Regions from separate parts of the Homo sapiens genome. Here regions 1, 3 and 4 are each linked to region 2. Evidence: promoter capture Hi-C in 16 types of primary human blood cells and fetal thymus (Javierre and others, 2016). All regions are on one chromosome and are shown on one strand. Each heading gives the region's core, a stretch centred on a gene start or on the middle of the fragment in contact. The rest is flanking DNA. Distances are from core to core; before and after follow the strand shown. Region 1 has its middle 8.5 kb from the start of UPF3B. Region 2 holds the start of WDR44 (WD repeat domain 44). Region 3 overlaps SLC25A43 (solute carrier family 25 member 43). Region 4 has its middle 10 kb from the start of SLC25A5-AS1.

Region 1 (5,594 bases), core at 2,780-5,279, 1.5 Mb before region 2:
CCACCAATCTGCATTCTCTGTGGATTTAATTATGTTATATATTTCTTTTCTTTTTTTTTTTTTTTTTTTCCCGAGACGGAGTCTTGCTCTGTCACCCAGGCTGGAGTGCGGTGGAGTGATCTCAGCTCACTGCAACCTCCACCTCCCAGGTTCAAGCAATTCTCCTGCCTCAGCCTCCCAAGTATCTGGGATTACAGGTGCGCGCCACCACGCCCTGCTAATTTTTGTATTTTTAGTAGAGATGGGGTTTCACCATGTTGACCAGGCTAGTCTCAAACTCCTGACCTCGTGATCTGCCCGTCTCGGCCTCTCAAAGTGCTGGGATTACAGGCGTAAGCCACCTCGCCCAGCCTATGTTAGATATTTCATATAAATGGAATTGCAATATGGAATCTTTCATGTCTGGCTTCTTTCATTTAGTTTTCAAGGTTCATCCACATTGTAGTATGTATCAGTACTTCCTTTCTATGGCTAAACAGTATTCCATTGTATGCATAGAACACAATTTGCTTATTAACCAATCATCTGTTGATGGATATTTGTTCATTTACCTTTTAGCTCTGACTATGGGTGTACATGTATTTGTTTGAGTGTCTGTTTTCAATTCCTTTGGGTATATACTTAGGAGTGTAGTTGCTGGGTCATATGGTTAAGTTTATGTTTAACTTTTTATATATGTATATATAGAGAGAGAGAAAGAGACAGGGTCTCACTCTGTCACTCAGGCTAGAGTGCAGTGGCCAGATTATAGTTCACTGAAGCCTCACACTCTTGGGCTCAAGTGATCCTCCTACCTCAGCCTCCTGAGGAGCTAGAACTACAGGTGCACAACGCCATGCCTGGCTAATTTTTTTTTTCTTTTTTTTTTTGTTGAGACGGAGTCTGGCTCTGTCGCCCAGGCTGGAGTACAGTGGTACGATCTCGGCTCACTGCAACCTCTGCCTCCCAGATTCAAGTGATTCTCCTGCCTCAGCCTCCCAAGTAGCCGGGATTACAGGCACCTGCCACCATGCCCGGCTAATTTTTGTATTTTTAGTAGAGACGGGGTTTCACGTTCTTGGCTAGTCTGGTCTCGAACTCCTGGCCTCATGTGATCCGCCCACCTCAGCCTCCCAAAGTGCTGGGATTACAGGCATGAGCCACTGCACCCAGCTAAATCTTTTACTTCTTTTGACAATGTTTTATAGTATTTAGAGAATAAGTATTGCACTTCCTTTGTTAAATTTATTCCTAATATTTTGTTCTTGATGCTATTGCAAATAGAATAATTTTCTTAATTTCATTTTTAGATTATTCATCAACAGCATATAGAAATAAAATTTATTGTTTTCCAATATTGATCTTATATACTGGAACCATGCTGAACTCATTTATTGGTCCTAGCAGGTTGTTTTTTAGTGGATTCCTTAGGATTTTCTATATACATGACCACGATATTCTATGTACATGAACCAAGACTATGTCATCTGCCAATAAAGTTTTAGTTCTTCCTTTACAATCTGAATACATTTTATTTCATTGTCTTGCCCAGTTGCCATTGATGGAGCTTCCAGGACAATGTTGAATAGAGGTGGTGAGATTAGACATTCTTCTCTTGTTCCTGATCTTAGGAGGAAAACATCCAGTCTATCACCACTAAGTATGTTATTAGCTGCGAGTTTTTTGTAGATGCTCTTTTCTGAGTTGAGAAAAGTTCCCCTGTATTCCTAGTTTGTTGAGTGTTGTTATCATGAAAAGGAGTTGGATTTGGGGCAAATATTTTTTCTGCATCTTTTGAGATGATTATGTGGTTTTTGCTTTTTATTCTACTGATATGGTCTATTACAGTAATTGATTTTTGGATGTTTTAAAGATAGGAAAACAAAACAAAGTGTTTTTCCTACTCTCACACTCAAGGAAACACAGAACACTCCACCTGTGGTCACCAAAATGTGTGGGGAAATACACACATACACCAACCAAGCAATTCTCCAGCTGACATCAGCTGGATCTCCTCTAAATCAATTCAATTCCAACATTGCCTACCTGGAGATAGCATCAGATCCCATAGATCCTATACAGAGATTTGGGGCTCAGTCCTATGAGACTGCCCCCCACCTCAAATGCCAATAGTAAGTAGTAGGTTGTCATCTATACTTCTGACCCACCAGCTATAAATCAGGGGTTTCTACTACCCTCTCCTCAGGTTCCATTAATTTGCTAGAGTAGCTCACAGAATTCAGGGAAACACTTTACTTAAATTTACTCATTTATTATAAAGGATATTACGAAGCATATAGACAAATAGTCAGATAGAAAAGCTGTGTAGGGCAAGGCATGTGAGAAGGGGCCCAGAGCTTCCATGCTCTCTCTCTCAGAACCACCCTCAAGGTAACTCATGTCCAGCTAGCCAGAAGCTCTCAGAACTCAGTCCTTTGGGACTTCTATGGAGGCTCCATTACATAGGCATGATTGATTACATCACTGGCCATTGGTGATCAACTCAACCTTCAGCCCTTCTCCCCTCCCCAGAGGTCTAGGTTTGTGGGGTGATGTGGGGTTGAAAGTTCCAACCCTCTAATTACATGATTGGTTCCCCTGGCAACCAGCCCCCATCCTGAGGCTATCCAGGATCCCACCAAGAGTCACCTCATTAAAACAAAAGATGCTACTATGATCCAGGAAATTCTGAGGGATTTAAGAGCTCTATATATCAGAGCTTTCTTTAATCTAATTCGTTTCTTTTGTTTTTTTTTTTTTTTTTTTTTTTTTTTTTTTTGAGACGAAGTCTCACTCTGTCACCCAGGCTGAAGTGCAATGGCAAGATCTCGGCTCACTGCAACCTATGCCTCCCGGGTTCAAGCAATTCTTCTGTCTCAGCCTCCCAAGTAGCTGGGATTACAGGCGTGTACCACCACGCCTGGCTATTTTTTTTTTTAGACAGAGTCTTGCTCTGTTGCCTAGGCTGGAGTGCAGTGGTGCGATCTCAGCTTACTGCAACCTCCACCTCCCAGGTTCAAGTGATTCTCCTGCCTCAACCTCCCGAGTAGCTGGGACTACAGGCGTGCGCCACCATGCCCAGCTAATTTTTTGTGTATTTTTAGTAGAGACCGGGTTTCACCGTATTAGCCAGGATGGTCTCAATCTCCTGACCTTGTGATCCGCCCACCTCGGCCTCCCAAAGTGCTGGGATTACAGGTGTGAGCCACCGTGCCCAGCCTTTTTTTTTTTTTTTTTTGAGATGGAGTCTCAAATCTGTTGCCCAGGCTGGAGTGCAATGGCATGGTCTTGGTTCACTGCAACCTCCGCCTCCTAGGTTTAAGCAATTCTCCTGCCTCAGCCTCCCAAGTAGCTGGGATTACAGGTGCGTGCCACCACACCTGGCTAATTTTTGTATTTTTAGTAGAGATGGTGTTTCACTCTGTTGGCCAGGCTGGTCCTGAACTCCTAACCTGGTGATCCACCTGCCTCGGCCTCCCAAAGTGCTGGGATTACAGGCGTGAGCCACCACGCCCGGCCTCCTTACTTTCATATCCATATAATGTGTTACTGCATTTAACATTTGACATAAATAATCTCTTCATATTTTTGTAATGTAACAAACATTTTATTAATTTTATTAACATTACTTTTACATCTGAGAATTTACCAGTATTTTTAAGATAACTCTATAATTTTTTCTAGTTTTTTTTAATAGCCCCTACACAAACTCACAGGATTTAGGGTTTTCGTTTTGTTTTGTTTTGTTTTTTTAACTACCAGCCTTGGAGATGTAATTTAGATTTATGAATCAGCTGTATTACTTTCTAGCCATGTAATTTTGGGTTTGAGTGACCACGTGTCTTAATTTCACTCATTGCAAAATAGGGAAAACAACAGTACCCAATTCATAGGGCTGGTGTGAGGACTAACCAAGTCAACGCACACAAAGTGCCCAGCACAGGGCAAAAATAAGCTTTGATCATGATTGTTTTGTTGTTGTGAAAGTCCATAAGTCTCCTTTTGTCCAAATTTCATCTCACTCTCAGTACACAGGATCTTTCTAAGTCTACATTATAGAAATAGAACTGATAATTTTCTACGCTTATACCTGTAAAATTATTCCCCTGAGAAAATTACACAACTTCAGGATTTTTAAAGCTTACTGGATTTACTTACAAGTTTACATGAGTGCGGCTGGGTGCGGTGGCTCATGGCTGTAATCCCAGCACTTTGGGAGGCCGAAGCGGGAGAATCACTTGAGCTTAGGAGTTTGAGAACAGCCTGGCCAACATGGTGAAATCCCGTCTCTACTAAAAATACAAAAATTAGTCCCATGCCTGGCGCCTGTAATCCCAGCTACTTGGGAGGCTGAGGCAGGAGAATAGCTTGAACCTGGGAGGTGGAGGCTGCAGTGAGCCGAGATTATGCCACTGCACTCCAGCTTGGGCAACAGAGCGAGACTCCATCTCAAAAATAAATAAATAAATAAATAAAGTTTACATGTGTGGTACAGTTTGAGCATCCAAAATCTGAAATGCCCCAAAATCTGAAACTTTTTGAGCACTGACATGATATCACAAGTGGAAAATTCCACACCTGACCTCGTGGGACAGGCCACAGACAAAACACAGGCACACGACACACAGTTTATTCAGTGTCTCCAAGGAAAAAATTAAAATTACCTTCAGGCTCTGTGTACAAGGGGCATATGAAACATAAATGAATTTCATGTTGAGACTCGGGTCCTATCCCCAAGTTATCTCATTACATATATGCAAATATTCCAAAATTCGAAACACTTCTGAAATCCAAAACACTTCTGGCCTGAAGCATTTCAGATAAGGCATACTCAACTTGTATTCTCCCTCAGAATCTAATGTCACTCCTCCAAGGCTCAGCTACCAATTTTAAACTAAAAACTTTTCTTAATTGAGAAATTCATCTCTGTTTCCCATGTGACTGAATTCCTTATATTGTTCATTAGCTCCTCCTGTTTTTTTTGAGACAGAGTCTCACTCTGTTGCCCAGGCTGGAGTGCAGTAGTGCAATCTTGCTCACCACAACCTCCGCCTCCCAGGTTCAAGTGATTCTCCTGCCTCAGCCTCCCAAGTAGCTGGGATAACAGGTGCTCGCCACCACTTCCAGCTAATTTTTGTATTTTTAGTAGAGATGGGGTTTCACCATGTTGGCCAGGCTGGTCTCGAACTCCTGACCTCAAGTGATCTGCCCACCTCGGCCTCCTAAAGTGCTGGGATTATCAAGCCACTGCGCCCGGCCACCTCCTCCTGTTTTATGTCATCAGTAGACATCAGGAATAGCTGGTTAACATCTTTCGTTATAATCCTTAAACTGTGGGAAGGTACTTCAAATAATTATACTATGTAAGCCTCCTTTATGCACTGACTGGGAAGGAGTCCAACGTTCTCATACATATTTTTAACTTGGCTAATTCATAAAATATTACCCTTTCTTTCATAGGTAATATTAGGATCAGCAGGCGCTCATGTGAAATAATTTTTTGTACTGTACAAATTATCCAACTCCTTTCCTAATTATCTGTTTAGAATTTGGATAATTTCAGAGCTGATCTGGGTCAAGAATTAATTAAAAACAACATTGAATATAACATTTAA
Region 2 (5,579 bases), core at 1,576-4,075:
ACTACAATTTGTTGACATAGTCTGTGTACTCCCAAACACACAACAGCAAGGAACATTTCTGAAGTGCCCAAATTCAGTCTATTAACCTTAGAAATTGTATAGTTTGCCACTCCAGATCATATGAAGGAACAGAACATATTTCTGATGACCAATATCTAGTAAGGCAATCTGTTTCCACAAATCAAGATTTCTCACTACATTTCTAGGTTATAAGTTGCCCACCCAGATCTCCTCACGGTGTCTTATGCAAATGATACAACCTTCCACAAAGGATAGAGGAAAATGTAAATGATGCTAACCTTTTTCTGCCCTCAGTGCTGCCAGTTCTTTTCAGATGCAATTCTCCAGATTAGTCTATTGTCTTTCCAATCCTCTAATACAGAAAGGAGCCCTGAAATCCACAAACTGACCCTGTAGTTTTATCCATAGAACTCAACACACTTAGTAATTGGGCAGGTTAAAGTTAAAATTAGAAAGCTGAGTTCCAAAAAAACCTTTTTCAGTTTTCACCTAATATCAGAGGATCAAAGTGCTTGAGAAGCTGTATTATCTCATGAGGGAAGAAGTGACTCTATCAATTCTATCAAAATGACTCATCCGGTTTAGATAAGTAAAATAGGTCCAAGTTCTATATATCTCCCAAAATAAGCTTTGTGTAAAGTTAACAAATTTGCCAATGCCAAGAAAGGAAGGAGAAAAGCATGAACATTTTGAATGCTTTCTCTGTGCCCAGGTACTGGACTAGACAGTTTACACAGGTCCTGATATAACTTGCGTCCTTTGAAATTAAACTTATTCAGTGGAAAGAACAATATCCACAGAGTAGTTCTAAACTGATCAGCTCATAAACTGATGATTTCCCTCCCCCACCCCAATACACACACACAAAAGTACCAAAGGACTTGGTGTCTCATTCAATCTGAATTGTCAGTTCATTACTTTGAAGGGAAAACCACACACACAAAAATTAAGTTTCACGGAAGTCCAATACATTTCAAAACCCAAATGTATTTCCTATGCTCTACACCTAGCTCTAAACTTGTCTCAGATATTGAACTTGAAGGAGATTCGGTGTCATCTCAAGATTGGCCACTGCCACCCCAAAATCCCACAACAGTGACATGAAGGTTGGTGGAAAGACAAACATCTGAAATCTACCAACGTACATTGCTTTCTGATTTTATTACTGTAACTTTTTGGTGCATATTGTGTATAAACATACATTAGTTTTTAGAATGACTTCTAGCATGCATGGCTAACTATACTTGCATCACAGCGGGTTATTACTCCCACGGAGTAAGTGTGAGAATTGAAGGCAGTGAACTTCTCGAACCATATTAGTCCTTTATACTAACATCTACATTTTACCAATCCTCAAGTTCTTACAGCATGAAAATATATTTCACTGCCTCTATTTCCACGTACATTCGTAGGGGAGTTCGGCGAAATCGCTTTAAAGCACTACCCCAACTTTGAAAAGTGGAGAAGTGGGTAAGTAAATACAAGTCCTAGTCAAGCGAGCATTCCAACTACTGTACTTCCTATTCAGAATCACCCATATTAATCACCACTAAAACATCTTGCAGAATTAGATAAAGAACACAAAGCTGGGGCTCTCCTTCCAATCACCAGATTACTCAGCACTTGTTTGTCCCTCTGCAGTCAGTTGTGCACATTTCTTCTGTCTGGCCATCCTTTTAGACCGCATTCTGCCTAATAGGGACCGTGTATTCGATTTCCTTTACCTCACGATAAGGTGTTATTTTAATAAAACACTGTTGATCTAGAGTACATTCGCTAGAGGACTTTCTTAAGCAAATACCCAACCTTCCCCCCGCTCCTTTTCGCTGTGTGCAAGAAAAAGAGGACGGCAAATAGGGGAGAGTTACAGCCACCTCTGAAGTGAATAGGTAAGTTAGCGGTAAACGGGAGAATAAAAAACTACAAGTTACATTTCTCCTGTTACTGCTCCTTTAATCTACGGTCCCCGAGGCCAAAACGGATGTTTGAAAGGTAAGCTCAGAACCCCACAGATACAAATCTCCGACTCAGGCACGTAAGCTGTTCCCCCTCACAGAAGGCTGGATCAGAAGAGAAACGGGCTCCGAGACCGACCCTGGGACCGTTCAGTAGGGAAACGGCCGGGAGGCTGCCCGAGGTGGCTGACTCCCCCTTCTCCGAGTCACCCCGCCCTAAGAAGCCCCAGGTCTGGGTTCTGAAGTCCTCCAGTGAGACGGGGAGGAACAGCGGTGGCGGACACAGCGGGACCTGGGAGGGGTGTAGGGGGAAGACACAGGAGATGCGGGGGGCTTGGGATGCCCGGCTTCCTGTCATAGCTGCAGTCACTTACCCCACGGGGTAGCCGCCCCCTAGGTGCACATCTTCAGGGGCATCATAGAATTCCTCGGTGTCGCTTTCCGACGCCATTTATAGGACACACCCGCGGGTGAGGGGGCCGGCGCCGCCTGGAGGAAGGGTGACTCTTGTCTCCTCCTCGTCGACCTCCACCCGGGCGAGACTGGGGAAGTGGGTCTCGGGCGAGGCTGAGGGAGCAGACGATCTGTAGCGAGGAGACTGTTAAGGAAAGGGGGCCGCCCTCAGTTGCCGGGCTTCGGGAATGACCGGCAAAGCGGCCGCCTGAAGAGGCGGCGGTTGGTCCAGGGAATGTTGCTGCCACCGCTCCCAGTGATAGGTGTATAAGGAGCGCGAAAGAGGCGGTGGCTCCTCGCAGTAAGGGAAGAAGGGCGCGCCGGCTACAGCGGCTCCAGTTTCTCCCGCAGCAGCAATTTACAGCAGCTGGAAGAGCTAGTTGCCCGCAAAATACCGACGCGCACCTACCCTCGCGAGATTTCGGAGGGGCGGTAATACGTGGGCGGGGCGAAGAGGTGGCGGGGGCGGTTCCAGAGAGGCAGCGCTCCGATTACTTCGGCCCGAGAAGCCTATCAAAACGGCGCAAGCGCGTTGAGGGCGTTCGGTGAGGGCCGGAAGTAGCCGAGAAGGGAGGGGGTGAGCCTCCCGAAGGGAGGAGTCTAGGACCTGCGCAGGAGCAGCGTGGTGCCCTGGCTCTGAGAGCGCGCGGCCGACGTAGGTGGGGTCAGGCAGAAAGTCTTACTCCCTAACTCTGCAGTTCCAAAGAGACGCGTTTTGAGAGGGGTGATTTTGAGTCGGTCTTTTACTTGTAAAGAAATACTCTCGGGAAACGTTGGTGTGGACATTTTGGCGTATATTTACGATGTCTTACTATCCAAGCCCGGAATGTCCCACCCTAGGGCGTCGGCAGGTCCACCACCTCTGGCGTTACGAGAATAACTCGCCCTTATTCACTACGAGATCTCTAATTGAGATCCCTAGATATGATCCTGCCGGCCAGAGGGTGGGGTCCTTGAGATATACACGGGGAGTGTGCCAGTTCCATGGTGTAATGATGGATTTATTGCTGGAGCTGAGCCAGTATTAGGCCTCCGGTTACTTTTTCTCCGCACATGTCTGTCGCTGCCAACACAGTGTGAGAGAAGTTCTTACATACTGCCCAAGATGTGCGTCAGCTAAATGGTAAATATTTATTGAGCAGATATCATTGCAAGCCTACGAGCTAATGGCTTAATTCTGATCCTCAACTGCCCAGCGTCCGGTGATAAAAATAGAAAGGTACTTTTTAAAAAACCGAGATGTTCCTTCTTAAACCACGGGTCATTGACCATCAAGGTGATAACATTGACTTTCAGTATGATCACACAGCATATTTATTTCTCCAACTGACATCATGATAGGCATTTTGAGCTGTTCGTGCAGCCTCAATTAGTATTCAAGAAAAGGCTGGATTGGAGCCAGGGGTATGGTCTCAGAGAAACTGGAAAGGGGCTCTAGACTTTGTCAAGCAATCAGGGCAAGGTCTGCTGTGGTCTAGTGGACTTGGGTAAAAACCAAATGTCATATACTGTATATTCTATAATACCCCAGGGAGTTTAGGGAAAACACTGCGTAATCAAATATATTAATATTTTTGCAGCAAGATATATGATTGTTCATACGGGATAAATAAATACAAGTAAATAGCCTCATTCAGTTTGAGTCAGACGCTTCTGCCAAATAAGTTTAAGATAGATCTATTTGACTGTCAAATAAATTACTAAAAAAAAAAAAAAACAGAAACTTGGTTTCCAGAGCTTTTGAAGTTTCAGAATTGGAGACAAGGGATTTGTGGATCCTTGTGAGGGTATGACTTTTGTCAAACCTAAAAATTATTAGGTTTTATGTGTCTTAAACATGTTAATTAACTTCCTAGGTATAAAAATGTAACTCAAAGTACTAACTTTTAAAAACGTTTTGCTCACTAAGATAGGTTTTTTTGTTTTCTTTTTGGATTATGGAAAGATACCAGATATAAGGTAGGGAAATATATATTTATGGAAAGATGTTAACTACCTGAATGTATTCTCTTCCTAGATATCTAATAGTGAATTTATGGCTTCCAAAGAAAAAAAAGTTAGTTTTCTCTATATGATAGAGGTGTTAGTTCCAGGCGCGGTGGCTCACGCCCGTAATCCCTGCACTTTGGGAGGCCGAGGCAGGCGGATTTCTTGAGCTCAAGAGTTTCAGACCAGCCTGGGCAACATGGTGAAACCCTGTCTCTACAAAAAATTCAAAATTTAACTGGGTGTGGTGGCATGTGCCTATGGTCTCAACTACTGTGGAGGCTGAGGTGGGAGAATCGCTTGAGCCCAGGAGGTTGAGGCTACAGTGAGCTGAGATAGCACCACTACACTCCAGACTGGGCAGCAGAGCCACACCCTGTCTCTCACACACACACACAAAAAACAACAGCAACAACAAAAACAAAATGCCGTGTGTGGAAACCAGTCGCTCAGTTCAGTAAACATATACAATTTGGTGTCATGAAGCGTTCTAGATGCTGAGGACAATTGACAGATTAAAAAGACAACTAGATCCGGCGCGGTGGCTCACACCTGTAATCCTAACACTTTGGAAGGCCGAGGTGCGCAGATCACTTGAGGTCAGGAGTTCGAGACCAGTCTGGCCAACATGGCAAAATCCTGTCTCTACTAAAAATACAAAAGTTAGGGGGGCGTGGTGGCACTTGCCTGTTGTCCCAGCTACTCGGGAGGCTGAGGTAGGAGAATTGCTTGAACCTGGGAGGCGGAGGTTGCAGTGAGCTGAGATCCCGCCGCTGCATTCCAGCCTGGGCGACAGAGGGAGACTCTGTCTCAAAAACAACAACAACAACAACAACAAAAACAAAACAGAAAAAGACAACTTAAGTTTCTGCCTACAAAAAGCTAATAATCTAGCAGTGGAGACAAATACGGAGTCCTAGTTTGGTGCTCTGTTTTTTTTCAATATACCATATCAGCTCTCTTGGACCTTTTAAGCTGCCTTAAACATTATACTTAGAAAAAGGTAAAATGGATAGGAATGATAAACTGGTAACATTTTTAGAGCTTTTAAAGTTTCCGTTTAAATGCTTTTATCAATTGCATGAGAAAGCCAATTGCTAGAATGAATTGCTGGAAACGTTAAAACACATATAAATACTGCCCATCGTCACTTTTTTTTGTTTT
Region 3 (5,620 bases), core at 2,694-5,193, 1.1 Mb before region 2:
TGTGCCCGGCCTATCTTTTTAAAATGAGAGCATCCCCAGTTCCTTAGCCTTCAAACCTCCAGTGAGGAGGTGCATTTCCTGTTCTTTCAGTTGCCCATAGGCCAGGGGCTGCTGCATGAGAAATAAGAGTGGGCATTCAGGTGAAAGCATTTAAGGGGTTCTAGGCTAGCTCTTTTGCTTTCAAGTAAACACTCACTGATTAAAAACATCTTCAAGCTGTAGGAGTCTTGACTTCATTTTGTCAACCTACCTTAGCCGCATTAACTGAAACAGTCATTTGAGTTAATCAGCTGCTTTTAAACATACAGGGAAGTAAAGGTGATGTGGTGCTATGATACATACATTGGTTTTCACCCATGGTTCCTGGCTCCTAACTTCCCTAGTCCTTGTTATAATGTTGGGGCACTTTAGGTCTCAGGAAACAGAATCTTTCTCTCTTTGACCTTCTCCTGCCCTCCTTTTACCTGCCCAAGGTAGGACTCTAATCTGATTGTGGGTTAAAAGATCCTCATCCCAGAGAGGGTCCTGCCCCATACCCTAGAGCAAACTTGTCCAACCCACAGCCCACAGGCCGCATGTGGCCCGGGATGGCTTTGAATGTGGCCCAACACCAATTTGCAAACTTTCTTAAAACATTATGAGATTTTTTTGCAATTTTTTTTTTTTTAGCTCATCAGCTATCGTTAGTGTTATTGTATTTTATGTGTGGCCCGACAATTCTTCTTCCAGTGTGACCCAGGGAAACCAAAAGATTGGACACCTCTGCCCTAGAGAAAGGAACGCTGCATAGAGGCCAAGAAAAGTCTGAACAGACAGGCCTTGCTGGGTTTAGATCATGTGCTTTTCATCCAGTCACATTTCTACATGGTTGTCAATCATGCCTCTGTAACAAATCTTCCATAAAAACCCGAGAGGACAGGGTTTGGGAACCTTCTGGATGGCTGAACATGTGGAGGTTCCTGAAGGGTGGCGTGCCCAGGGAGGGCATGGAAGCTCCACACCCCCTGCCCCTTACCTCACCCTGCCCATCTCTTCTCTGTATCCTTTGTGGTATCCTCTGTAGTTAACTGGTAAACATTAACTATTTCCCTGAGTTCTGTGAGCCGCACTAGCAAATTAATCGAACCCAAAGAGGGGGTCGTGGGAACCCCAACTTGAAGCTGGTTGGTCAGAAGTTCTGGAGGCCTGGCTAGGCATGGCGTCTCATGCCTGTAATCCCAGCACTTTGGGAGGCCGAGGCAGGCAGATCACTTGAGGTCAGGAGTTCGAGACCAGCCTGGCCAACATGGCAAAACCTTCTCTTTAGTAAAAAAATTACAAAAATTAGCTGGGCATGGTGGCGGGCGCCTGTAATCCCAGTTACTCAGGAGGCTGAGGCAGCAGAATAGTTTGAATCCGGGAAGCAGAGGTTGCAGTGAGCCGAGATCACGCACTGCACTCCAGCCCGGGTCACAGAGCGAGACTCAGTCTTAAAAAAAAAAAAAAAAAAGTTCTGGAGGCCTGGACTTGTGACTAGTGTCTGGTTGGGGGCCATTCTTGGGGACCAAGCCCTTAACCTGTGGCTTGGTCTGACATTATGTCCAGGTAGACAGTGTCAGAACTGAATCAGAGGACACCTAGTTGGTGTCCATTTATCAGAGTGTGGGGTTCCCCACACTCATTTGGTCACAGAAGTCTTCTGTGTTGAGGGTTGTTGTTGTGGTGTGAGAGCAGAGGAAAAACCAAGTTTGACAGAGGTTTTTCTCAAACAGGTGGCATTCACCAACAGACTATCTGCCTCAGTTGTACTGCCTGCCTGCCCACTTCCTCGTTCCTCCCTCTTCTATACCCTGGCCAGTCAAGTTGGAGGGGGACCTCAGAAAGGACAGGGGAAACAGAGGAAGTAGAAATTTTTGACTGGGGCTGGGCGTGGTGGCTCACGCCTGTAATCCCAGCACTTTGGAAGGCCAAGGCAGGTGGATCACGAGGTCAGGAATTCGAGACCAGCCTGGTCAACATAGTGAAACCCCGTCTCTACTGAAAATACAAAAATTAGCCAGGCATGGTGGCGTGCACCTGTAATCCCAGCTACTCGGAAGGCTGAGGCAGGAGAATCGCTTGAACCCGGGAGGTGGAGGTTGCAGTGAGCCGAGATTGCGTCACTGCACTCCAACTTGGGCGACAGAGCAATACTTCTTCCAAAAAAAAAAAAAGAAATTTTTGACTGGAGGGGCGGTCTGCAGCAAGCTGGAACCACCTAGAAGGTGGAGTTTGAAATGCCCAAAGAAATACCATTCATTCTCCTTGTCCCACTCTTATTCCCCATCCCACTTGGTCACTTCTAGGGCATAGTTAATTCACTACTCATTTATTGAAGGTCTACAATGTATCAGACCCTGTGTTAGTCCTCAGCATAGAGCCTAAGGGAGTTCAACACTTCTGACAAGGAAATGACTGGTAGGGGCAAGCGGAGAGGAAACAGGCCCTTAATTCACTGAATGACTTGATGAACTAGGAAGAGGAGCCGTATTTTATATCAGTTTCTTTTATAGAGTCTCAATATCAAATATACACAATTAAAAAGAAGAACCATAGGAAGTCCTTTTTTCGCAGACTTCTCCCATCTGATACAGAGATAAGTCCTATCAATTGTTCCCCTTAGAATCTCAGAGTCAGGGCAGGCAACCCTGATAATCCGCCAATGATGTCATCTCAGTCCATGCATCTTAAACTTTTGATTTGCTAGGGCGGCACTGTTCCCTTTTCTGTTCTTCCTCCCACCCCCACACATACATGCACAGAAGCTTTTTCCAGTGAGACTGGATACACTGGTGAATTGCAGCAACCCCTTCCTTTCAGCCAGCACAGATACAACACACACCCTGGATATGTGTAATTATAACTGCCAATACTTCAACCTAACAGGTTGGCAGCCAGTGCAGCCAAACATAAGCTCATGAAGTGCTTATTCAATAAAGAAATAGTGTTGGTTATGAACAATTTCAGAGCTGCAGGGACCCAAACTAACGTTTATTAGATAAGATAGACAAGCGGTTGTGAAGTTCCAGGGCGGGGGGGTCTTCTATTTGATACATCTGAAAGCCACCCATTACAATAACCTAGCTCCCAACAGACTACTGAGTGGACTCTTGATCGTCAATCCAACTAAGCAGATATTTCTGCTGTGCAATGGTAGACAGAGACCTGAACTAAGGAGCCAGAAGACTTGGCTTCAAGTTCCAGCTCTTCCATTAATTGCATTTGTGGACAAGTCACTTAACTACCCCATTCCCTGAACATTCTGGATGTTTATGTTTTGTTCAAACCCATGATCACAGGCCCCCAGCCAACTGTTTTGCAAATTCATGGTCAGAAAAGAGTAGAAATGAATCAGTATAATGATGAATCAAGAGTATCATGTTGATGTAGGAAGGATGGCATCGCGATTAATCAAACACTTTGCTTTCCAACTATGCCTTGCCATTCACCAAAATACTTCCTTTTAGTTTTCAGAAAGAAAATAATCCTGTAGGGGAAAAAAAATTCCTAGCAAACCTAGCCCAGGTAAGTCTCTGTTCTCGTTCTCCCAGACATCTCCTCCTCTCTGCTCCCATGGTCACCTATTGCCGGTGCCCTCAGCTGCTATGTGGACTAGTGCAACAGGTTCCTAACTGGCCCTGCTGTCTCCACTCTTCCTCCTCTCTAGTCATCTTACTCTGCCACGATGTGACGATCATTTCCATTGAATTGCTTTAATCACAACACACCTCCCCCCACCCCCCACAAAAACCTCCCACAGCTACCCTTGGATACCAAGTCAAGTCCAAATCCCTTAATCCAACCCTCTAATATCTCATTCCAACCTGCTTTTCTGGTTGGACTTCCTGTTGTGCTGCTTGCCTTCCCACCTCTGTGCATTTGCTGACATCAACTGCAGTATCTTTCTCTCCATCTCTGCCCAGCAGACTCCTCATTCTCCCAATGCCAAACTCAAATTTTTTTCTCCTCTATGAAGTCTTCACATTTTCTCCTCCTCATCGCTCATCAGAAGGGTACATTTCTAGAGCACATTATCCATGACAATCACATGCTACCTTGTGTGTTATGGTCATGGACATATTAGTCTTACTCTTCTATTACTCTGTAAGCTCCTGGGGCACAGGGACCATGCCCCTTCCATCCTGGCATTGTCCTCAGCATCGTGCACACAGTGGGGACTTAATGTAGCCTGACTAAATTAGTGTCAAATGGATGCAGGGAGGCAGCATGATGTAACAGAAAGACTATGAGATTTGGAGTCAGAAGGCCAGGTAGTGGAGCTCAGCTCGGTCACTGACAAGAGGTGTCATCACTCTGAGCCCAATTCTGCATCTGTAAAACAGGCACAATGCTTCCTGTCCTATGGACCTTACAGGGCAGGAGGCAGGAGCTTAAAAAATCTAATGTGCATATACTAGGTGCTTAGCAGAAGAGCCACAATACTTAAACCAGCCTTTGAAGTTCTGCCCCCCACCCCTCTGGACATATTTTATCCCATCCAAAGGAAGATTTCCACACTACTTTGTAGAGAAGAGGGTGAAGTGGGGGAGAAACTGAGTCATTAAGACTCAGAGGAGAACTGTTTACAGACTGCAGGCCAGATGTTGATGAGGGCAAGCAGAGGTGGGGAGGAAAAAGGGCCTTAACTAAATGTCATGGTCCCACCCATGAGTCCCTCTGCAGAGGAAGAGAAGGGAACTCTATTTCCAGGCAGAGGCAAAATGAGTACTGGCCTAGAGGCCTAGGTAATAAGGATGATTCCGTTCGGCTTGTCGGCTGCCAGGTGAGCCTTCCACCTCTGGCCTCCCAGGTGAGTGACAGTGTCAAGGCAAAATCCTTTGACTATTAGCCGCCAAGACTAAACTATGCGGTCAAGACCGACTCTCCCAAATGTGGGCTGTTTGTCTAATTCAGAGCCAAGGCGATATCAAAGATGCCACTGTGCCCACTGAATGAGGAACACAGGGACCGTCCCCCCAATACAGAAACATCTCTGCTTCCTGAAATGCCATCACTACCAATTCATTCTTTCAGGCTTGGTTTCCAGTTCAAATGCAGGTACCTCTGAGCTCGGTGGAAGCTTTAAGGCTGCATTTACACCTTTAGATCTTTTCCTAAGGAGCAGCTGTTGATGTGGGAGAAGGTGGAAAAGGCCCAAATAAATGAGGCCAGTGGGGTGAAGCGGTAGGCTGAGGGGGCCGTTCTCAGCTTGGGGAGGGGAAGCTGCAGCCTCTGTCGGAGCCTGAAGTCAAGCTTCATTTAAGTTGGGGAGATGTGTGGGCAAAAATCTGCGGCCTTTTCGTATCGATGGATCGGGTCCTTTCCCCACACCAAGCACTTTCTTCTCGGGGCTTGGGTCACACAGACAAAAACACCTTTAAAAGGGTCTCTCTCTTCCTAAGCCAGCCTAAGCAAAAGTTTCCAAATTGGAGGACGGTGGAAATGGTTAGGACTCATCTCTCTGGAGAGCTTTTCATTCCTTTCCTCCAAATCCTTTGCTGCATTCCACCTCCTCGCCCGGTCCAATCCGGAAAGCCTCTCGGACCAGGGCTGCGGACCACAAAACTGCATCTTGCAGGGCGGTAACCCCAAGAGAACGTGA
Region 4 (6,302 bases), core at 3,251-5,750, 1.1 Mb before region 2:
CTCACTACAGTGCCAGGCAAGTAGTGTTCTTGACCCCATTTTCCGGCTGAGCAAGGTGAGGCAGTGAGACTTAGAATCTTGCTCACCATTTCACAGCTGGAAAGGGGCGGAACCATGCTCTTAACCACTGCACCAAGCGCCTCTCCAGGGGCTCCTCACATGGGTAGGTCCCCAAGCAGGCCGATGGTCCCTAAAGAGCTTGAACCCCTCCCTTCCTCTGGGCCTCCGTGGTTATTTTCCAGGCACCGCAGCATTAAGTGCTACTTTCTGACTCTCTCTAAGTTGGGGGGGGGTTCCCTTTGTTTTCAGGGTTTTCATCTGCAGGTGTTACACGTGGTTTGCCAGGTGCCTCGGTTTCCTCATCTGGGAAATGGTAATCTTAGCACCTGCATCATAAGGCCACTGAAAGGATTAAATGAGTATCCACAATTAAAAGAGTGCCTGGCCCATAGTCAAAGCTCAAGAAATGACAATGGATGTTACTACTGAGCAAGTCCGCTGCTGCACTCCTGGAGGCCTCCCACTCACAAGTGAGAGAGAACAAACTCTGCCTGCTTCCTGAGCACGTCAAAAAGGGCCACATTCACTCAAGGGTTCTCATGGGCTTTTAGTGGCTGAAATAGTCTTAGAAGCTGGGAACATTAGGCCCAGGTCTGGGAGCAGGTCTGGCCTAATCAGCCCTAATCAGTCACATGGGCGTGCAGTTGGCACAGCTCTATCGGCAGCGTCCTCAGGTGCCCCAGGAACATGTCTGTTCCTCTCCCCTTGGAGTGGCCTGAGTCATGTTGTGTGACAGCCACTGTTCAATATTGTCATCATCACAACCAGACATCCATCAGGCAATTACTATGTGGAGGGCTCTGTGTTAGGGGCTCATGACAAGATGGCCAGCACATGTGTGGCACAGGCCAGCATCCCATGAACACAGTATGGTAGAAGCCCTGGATGTGGAGTCAGCTGTTTTTCACACAGATTTCAGGAGGGGAGGGGTGTGTGCCAAGGTCCCGCCTCTCTGGTTCTCTAGCATGGACAACATAGCAGCAGTACAGGAACCAGTTGATTTCCCAACCCCTGCAATATCCAGATCTTCCCTGTAAGCCCAGGGTCTGGAAAAACAATAGCTGCAAGTCAAAAGGCCCCGGACATTTGCTGAATTATTATGTAAGAAAATGAAAAAGAAAGGCCCTGTACATTTATTGCTACAGAATTGTTCCCAGGTATCAAGTGGCTGGATCGAGCCAAAATTCATTCATGCCAATCAATAACCAATGCACAAACCCTACAACATGCCATTCATTCATTCTCTATTTATTTCGTTATACAGATATTTATTTATTTATTTTTGAGACAGGGTCTCTCTCTGTCACCCAGGCTGGAGTGCAATGGCTCGATCTCGGCTCACTGCAACCTACACCTCCCGGGTTCAAGCCATTCTCCTGCCTCAGCCTCCCGAGTAGCTGGGACTACAGTGCCCGCCACCACACCTAGCTAATTTTTGTATTTTTAGTAGAGATTGGGTTTCACTATGTTGGCCAGGCTGGTCTCAAACTCCCAATCTCAAGTGATTCGACTGCCTCGGCCTCCCAAAGTGCTGGGATTATAGGCATGAGCCACTGTGCCTGGCTATTTTATTTATTTATTTATTTATTTATTTATTTATTTATTTATTTATTTAGAGATAGAGTCTCTGTCGCCCTGGCTGGAGTGCAGTGGTGCGATCTCAGCTCACTGCAACTTCCACCTCCCGGGCTCAAGCGATTCTCCGGCCTCAGCCTCCTGAGTAGCTGGGACTACAGGCATGTGCCACCACACCCAGCTAATTTTTTGTATTTTTAGTAGTTACGGTGTTTCACCATGTTGGCCAAGCTAGTCTCAAACTCCTGACCTCAAATGACCCACCCGCCTCGGCCTCCCAAAGTGGTGGGATGACAGGTGTGAGCCACTGCACTTGGCCCATTTTCTCATTTATCTCCTCCTTCAGCAAACATTTACCACACATTCACTATGTGTTAGGTTCTATGCTCAGTTTTAGGAATGTAAAGAGAAACGAGACATAGCCCTTAATGAGGACAGACAAATAAATACTTGGTTGTGATACCATGAAATAAACATTATAATTCATTCACTTAACAACTATTTCTTGAACATCTACTATGTGCCAGGCACTGTTCTAGACACTGGGGACACATGAATGAAACAGACAAAATATCTGCCTTTGTGAAGCTGACAGAGATAGATTACTTTAGAAGTACAGAGGAGAGAGCAATGAGTATGGGCAGGTGGAGTCTGGGAAGGCTCCCAGAGGTGGTGCAATCTGAGCTGGGTCTTGAAGGATCATGCCCTGGCAGAGGGGCAGGTAAGGGCATGCTGGGAAAAACAATAGTACAGCCAAGCTTGGAAATATGAAAGTGAATGACATAGGTAGGAAATGGCAAGTGGAACTGCAGATCACGTGCAGGAGGAGGAACAGAACATGAGGCGCACAGTACTGTCTCTCAATATAAGGTGCAATCAGATAAAATAGCCCAAAGCCCAACTCATTGCATTTTTCTTTTTCTTTTGTTCTTTTTTTTTCTCGAGACGGAGTCTCGCTCTGTCGCCCAGGCTGGAGTGCAGTGGCGCAATCTTAGCTCGCTGCAAGCTCCGCCTCCTGGGTTCACGCCATTCTCCTGCCTCAGCCTCCCAAGTAACTGGGACTACAGGCACCTGCCACCATGCCCGGCTAATTTTTTGTATTTTTAGTAGAGATGGGGTTTCACCACGTTAGCCAGGATGGTCTCGATCTCCTGACCTCGTGATCTGCCTGCCTCGGCCTCCCAAAGTTTTTTTGAGACTGAGTTTCACTCTGTCACCCAGGCTGAAGTGCAATGGTGCGATCTCAGCTCACTGCAGCCTCCGCCTCCCGGGTTCAAGCGATTCTCCTGCCTCAGCCTCCTGAGTAGCTGGGATTACGGGTGCCCGCTACCACACTCAGCTAATTTTTGTATTTTTAGCAAAGACGGGGTTTCACCACGTTGGCCAGGCTGGTCTCGAACTCCTGACCTCAGGTGATCTGCCCGCCTAGGCTTCCCAAAGTGCTGGGATTACAGGCGTGAGCCACTGTGCCCAGCCTCACTGCATTTTTCTGAGAGCCAACCCTGGTTAGAGGTAAGGGTGCGGCCAACACCAACTCCTCCTGTGGTTGTTAGTTGGTATGGGCCTTACGCAAAGTCCTAATGACCCCAGCCTCAGGCTTGTAACCTTAGAGAGAGGCTCAGTATTCCTTGTGAAGAGCCGTCATTTAAAAGGAAGATCTGTCTTGGAAAAGCCAAAGAAATGTGAATAAATTCAAATTTAACTCTAGAGCTTTAGGGTCAAGTAGTTTTTAATGACCATAATTCTTAAATTGGCTGAAAATAGAAAATAACCCATACTCTAAAAATGGACTTTACAAACAGTGCTTTGGTTATTATAATTTATTTTTTCTTTTGTTATCTCTTTTTTTATCCAACTGAGGTTATTATAATTTCTATTTAATATTTGTCAAATGGATTTTGTCAGTTGGTATTGAAACTAGCCGGCTTTCATATTTTAATATAGTTCATGACCCAAAATAAATAGTTGGACAGGGTCACCTTGAAGTTCTCTTTGAAACCTTTTGCCGAGTCAGATAGCTCAGAGGACATTATCTCATCTCTCTAAGCTTCGGTTTCATAGCTGTGAAATGGAGTGAATAATAATACCTGCCTCTTAGGGCTGTTGAGACAATAGGGACAGTTAATCCATGTAAAGTGCTTAGCACAACATCTGGCATATAAGATGTCAAAATAATGAGCTATGATCTTGATTCTGTAGTTTTAGAGAAATTACTGTTACCTGGTTGTATCGATTGTTTAACCTGAAGACGCAGGCTTAACTTAATTCAATCTATCTAGCCCTAGAAACTCCAAAAAGAACCACAGCCCACAGTAGATTTGAGGAATTATATTGTAGCTTAAAAAGGAAAGTTGATTTCCAGGTTTCCTGGTAGACAAACTGAGCCACTAACTAGTGACGGGATGTGATATGACCCAAGACAAAGAAACATGGAGCCGAAGTGGGATTACAATTTCAGTGGTCAAACTCCTAGCTTTCTACCCTAATTGGCAAACAGCACGCTTTTACCCAGAAGCCCAAGCGTCCTTACCCCCTGATCTTCACTTCTGGGATAAAGCCATTATGAAGCTCAATTTTTGTAATAAATGGACTCCTGAACCCTGGACTTAGTTGTGAAAGTGAAAGGAGATCCTTTGCTTCTAAAGGTCTCAGTAAATTTTCTCCTCCCTGCAGCTTCTTTCCCTAGGGAGTGAAGTCATAGGGTTGGGTAATCAGGCTGGGACCTCATGGGTTCCTTGAAATACTACGAGAGCAAAGGAAGCTGTGAGAAGAATCCTGGTGACCACACAGTGGCCCCTGGGTCAGGTGAGCAGTGCAGTCTGGTTGTGAGGCAGGACGGATTTATCTTTGACCTTTGGTCTCTTTCATAATCAGTGTTGTAAAATAAGTGCTCTGAGTTAGAGCTCAGGATTATCACCATAAGCACATGTTTCTATTCATTCAGTCCATTCCAAAAATGTCCTTTTCTTTCTTTACAACCTTCTCTCTCTCTCTCTGTGTGTGTGTGTGTGATCCACTTTCTATAGTATATATAGCATTTTCTTGAGACTGTTTTAGAAAATCTGCAGGAAAAGGATAAATCCATTAAACCATTCTCCCATGAATGAAGTGAAAATAATTTAAAGCATTTCAATAAAACAATAACAGTCGGGCCAGATGCAGTGGCTCCTGCCTGTAATCCCAGCACTTTGGGAGGCTGAGGCGGTTGGATCACTTGAGGCCAGGAGTTCGAGACCAACCTGGCCAACATGGTGAAACCCCATCTCTACTAAAAATACAAAAATTAGCCAGGTGTGGTGGCTTGCACCTCTTGTCCCAGCTACTCGGGAGACTAAGGCAGGAGAATCGCTTGAACCTGGGGGGTGGAGGTTGCAGTGAGCCAAGTTCGCACCACTGAACTCCAGCCTGGGTGACAGAGCAAGACTCTATCTCAAAAACAAAAACAAAGCAATAACAGTCATAATAAGAGCAAAATTGTGTAAAGCAGGTGCCCAGCATTGTTCTAAGCACTTTACATATATTAACTCCTTTAATCTTCACACTATTCCTATGAGGTAGGTACTAAAGTTATCCCCATATTCCACATGGGGAAACTAAGGCACAAAACAGTTAAGTAAAAGTTGAATTGTTGTCAAGTAAGAAAGTTTGGTATTTGAAAATGAGACCTCTAGCCTCAAAGCTTCTCATGAGTGAGTCCTGAGCGGTGTGCTCCGAGGAAGGTCAGGTGGTGAGGAAGCCCCAGACCTCTCCCTGATGTACAGGGCTGCCTCCAAATTCCTTCATCCACTCCAGTTCCACGGGCAGGAATGGATCTGAGTTTTGTGGAAGTGTCAGCTTATATGATTTGGCTCCCTCTTTTTAAAAACACAAAATATGTCTTTTGAAAATGTTGCCAAACCATATGACCAAATGAATATATGGTTAGGGCTTGGGAGGGGCCCATGCAAGGGGTGGCTCCAAAGGGGAAGCACCCCTAGCTCCACAGTACATCTGCCTTTGCCTCTGCCCATAAGATATCTCTGCTTCTTGCCAAACTGGGTATTGGAGTTCATTTAGACAGAAGAGTTTTCCTTTTCATTCCCAAACACGAGGCCCTCGGAAGTTACCAGTCAACAGCTATTTAACTGATACTTTATTCTGGTTATGTCCTTGCAACCATAACCATCTCTATTCTGGGACTGAAAACATTAGAGACAGTGTAACATGTCATGTGATCAGATTCGGCATGTTCTCTAAAATCTCAACAGTGCTAAATTGCCTCCCCATGTTACGAAAGTTGCCCAAGGAAATGAAATCCCAGGATGGATGCTCGCCATAAAAATAACCCCCTCGTTTCTCTGTCCCCTTCCCTGATAGTCACGGAAAAGCCAAGGATTAATAGACTCCTTTAATTTAACTCAGTTTTGTCTCTGATGAGGGTCTAGTGAAAGCAACTGCCCAATCTGTCGCTTGAATACTGTTTATATTTGTTGCCGGGATACCAAAGGCTCTCTTAAGCCTTTGGCTAAGAAGAGCACCATGCATCTGACCTTGTTCACCTGCACATAAAGCAAATAATGGCTGAAATGATAGGAAAGCTCCTCCAAACATTTGGAGTGGAACACAAGGCATTTTTGTGTCCGAAATTGCAGCGCCTAATATTTGTTGTTCAAATAAATCTCAACCTG

The links. Contacts are between HindIII fragments. The CHiCAGO score rates a contact against its expected background, and 5 or more counts as called.
Region 1: a contact is called between a fragment that was not itself captured here and the fragment with the promoter of WDR44 in region 2, in 1 of 17 cell types (neutrophils). The highest score is 5.3, in neutrophils.
Region 3: a fragment that was not itself captured here is called in contact with the fragment with the promoter of WDR44 in region 2 in 1 of 17 cell types (monocytes); the score reaches 5.1 in monocytes.
Region 4: a fragment that was not itself captured here is called in contact with the fragment with the promoter of WDR44 in region 2 in 1 of 17 cell types (monocytes); the score reaches 9.3 in monocytes.

The regions. Positions count from the first base shown.
Region 1 is chrX:119,858,691-119,864,284 of GRCh38, reverse strand. No RefSeq gene overlaps it. Among named protein-coding and RNA genes, the nearest start is that of UPF3B, 8.5 kb to the right of the region's middle. The HindIII fragment of the contact is 185 bases long and covers 3,937-4,121 here.
Region 2 is chrX:118,343,352-118,348,930 of GRCh38, reverse strand. WDR44 (WD repeat domain 44) reads right to left here and starts at 2,825. Exons shown (of 20, transcript NM_019045.5): 1 at 2,351-2,825. The coding sequence starts at 2,427. RefSeq lists enhancers at 60-654, 2,150-2,693, 3,235-3,284, 3,475-3,594. The HindIII fragment of the contact is 5,332 bases long and covers 652-5,579 here.
Region 3 is chrX:119,399,868-119,405,487 of GRCh38, reverse strand. All of the region lies in intron 1 of SLC25A43 (solute carrier family 25 member 43), which reads right to left. Among named protein-coding and RNA genes, the nearest start is that of SLC25A43, 3.3 kb to the right of the region's middle. The HindIII fragment of the contact is 2,315 bases long and covers 2,786-5,100 here.
Region 4 is chrX:119,476,081-119,482,382 of GRCh38, reverse strand. No RefSeq gene overlaps it. Among named protein-coding and RNA genes, the nearest start is that of SLC25A5-AS1, 10 kb to the right of the region's middle. The HindIII fragment of the contact is 1,632 bases long and covers 3,685-5,316 here.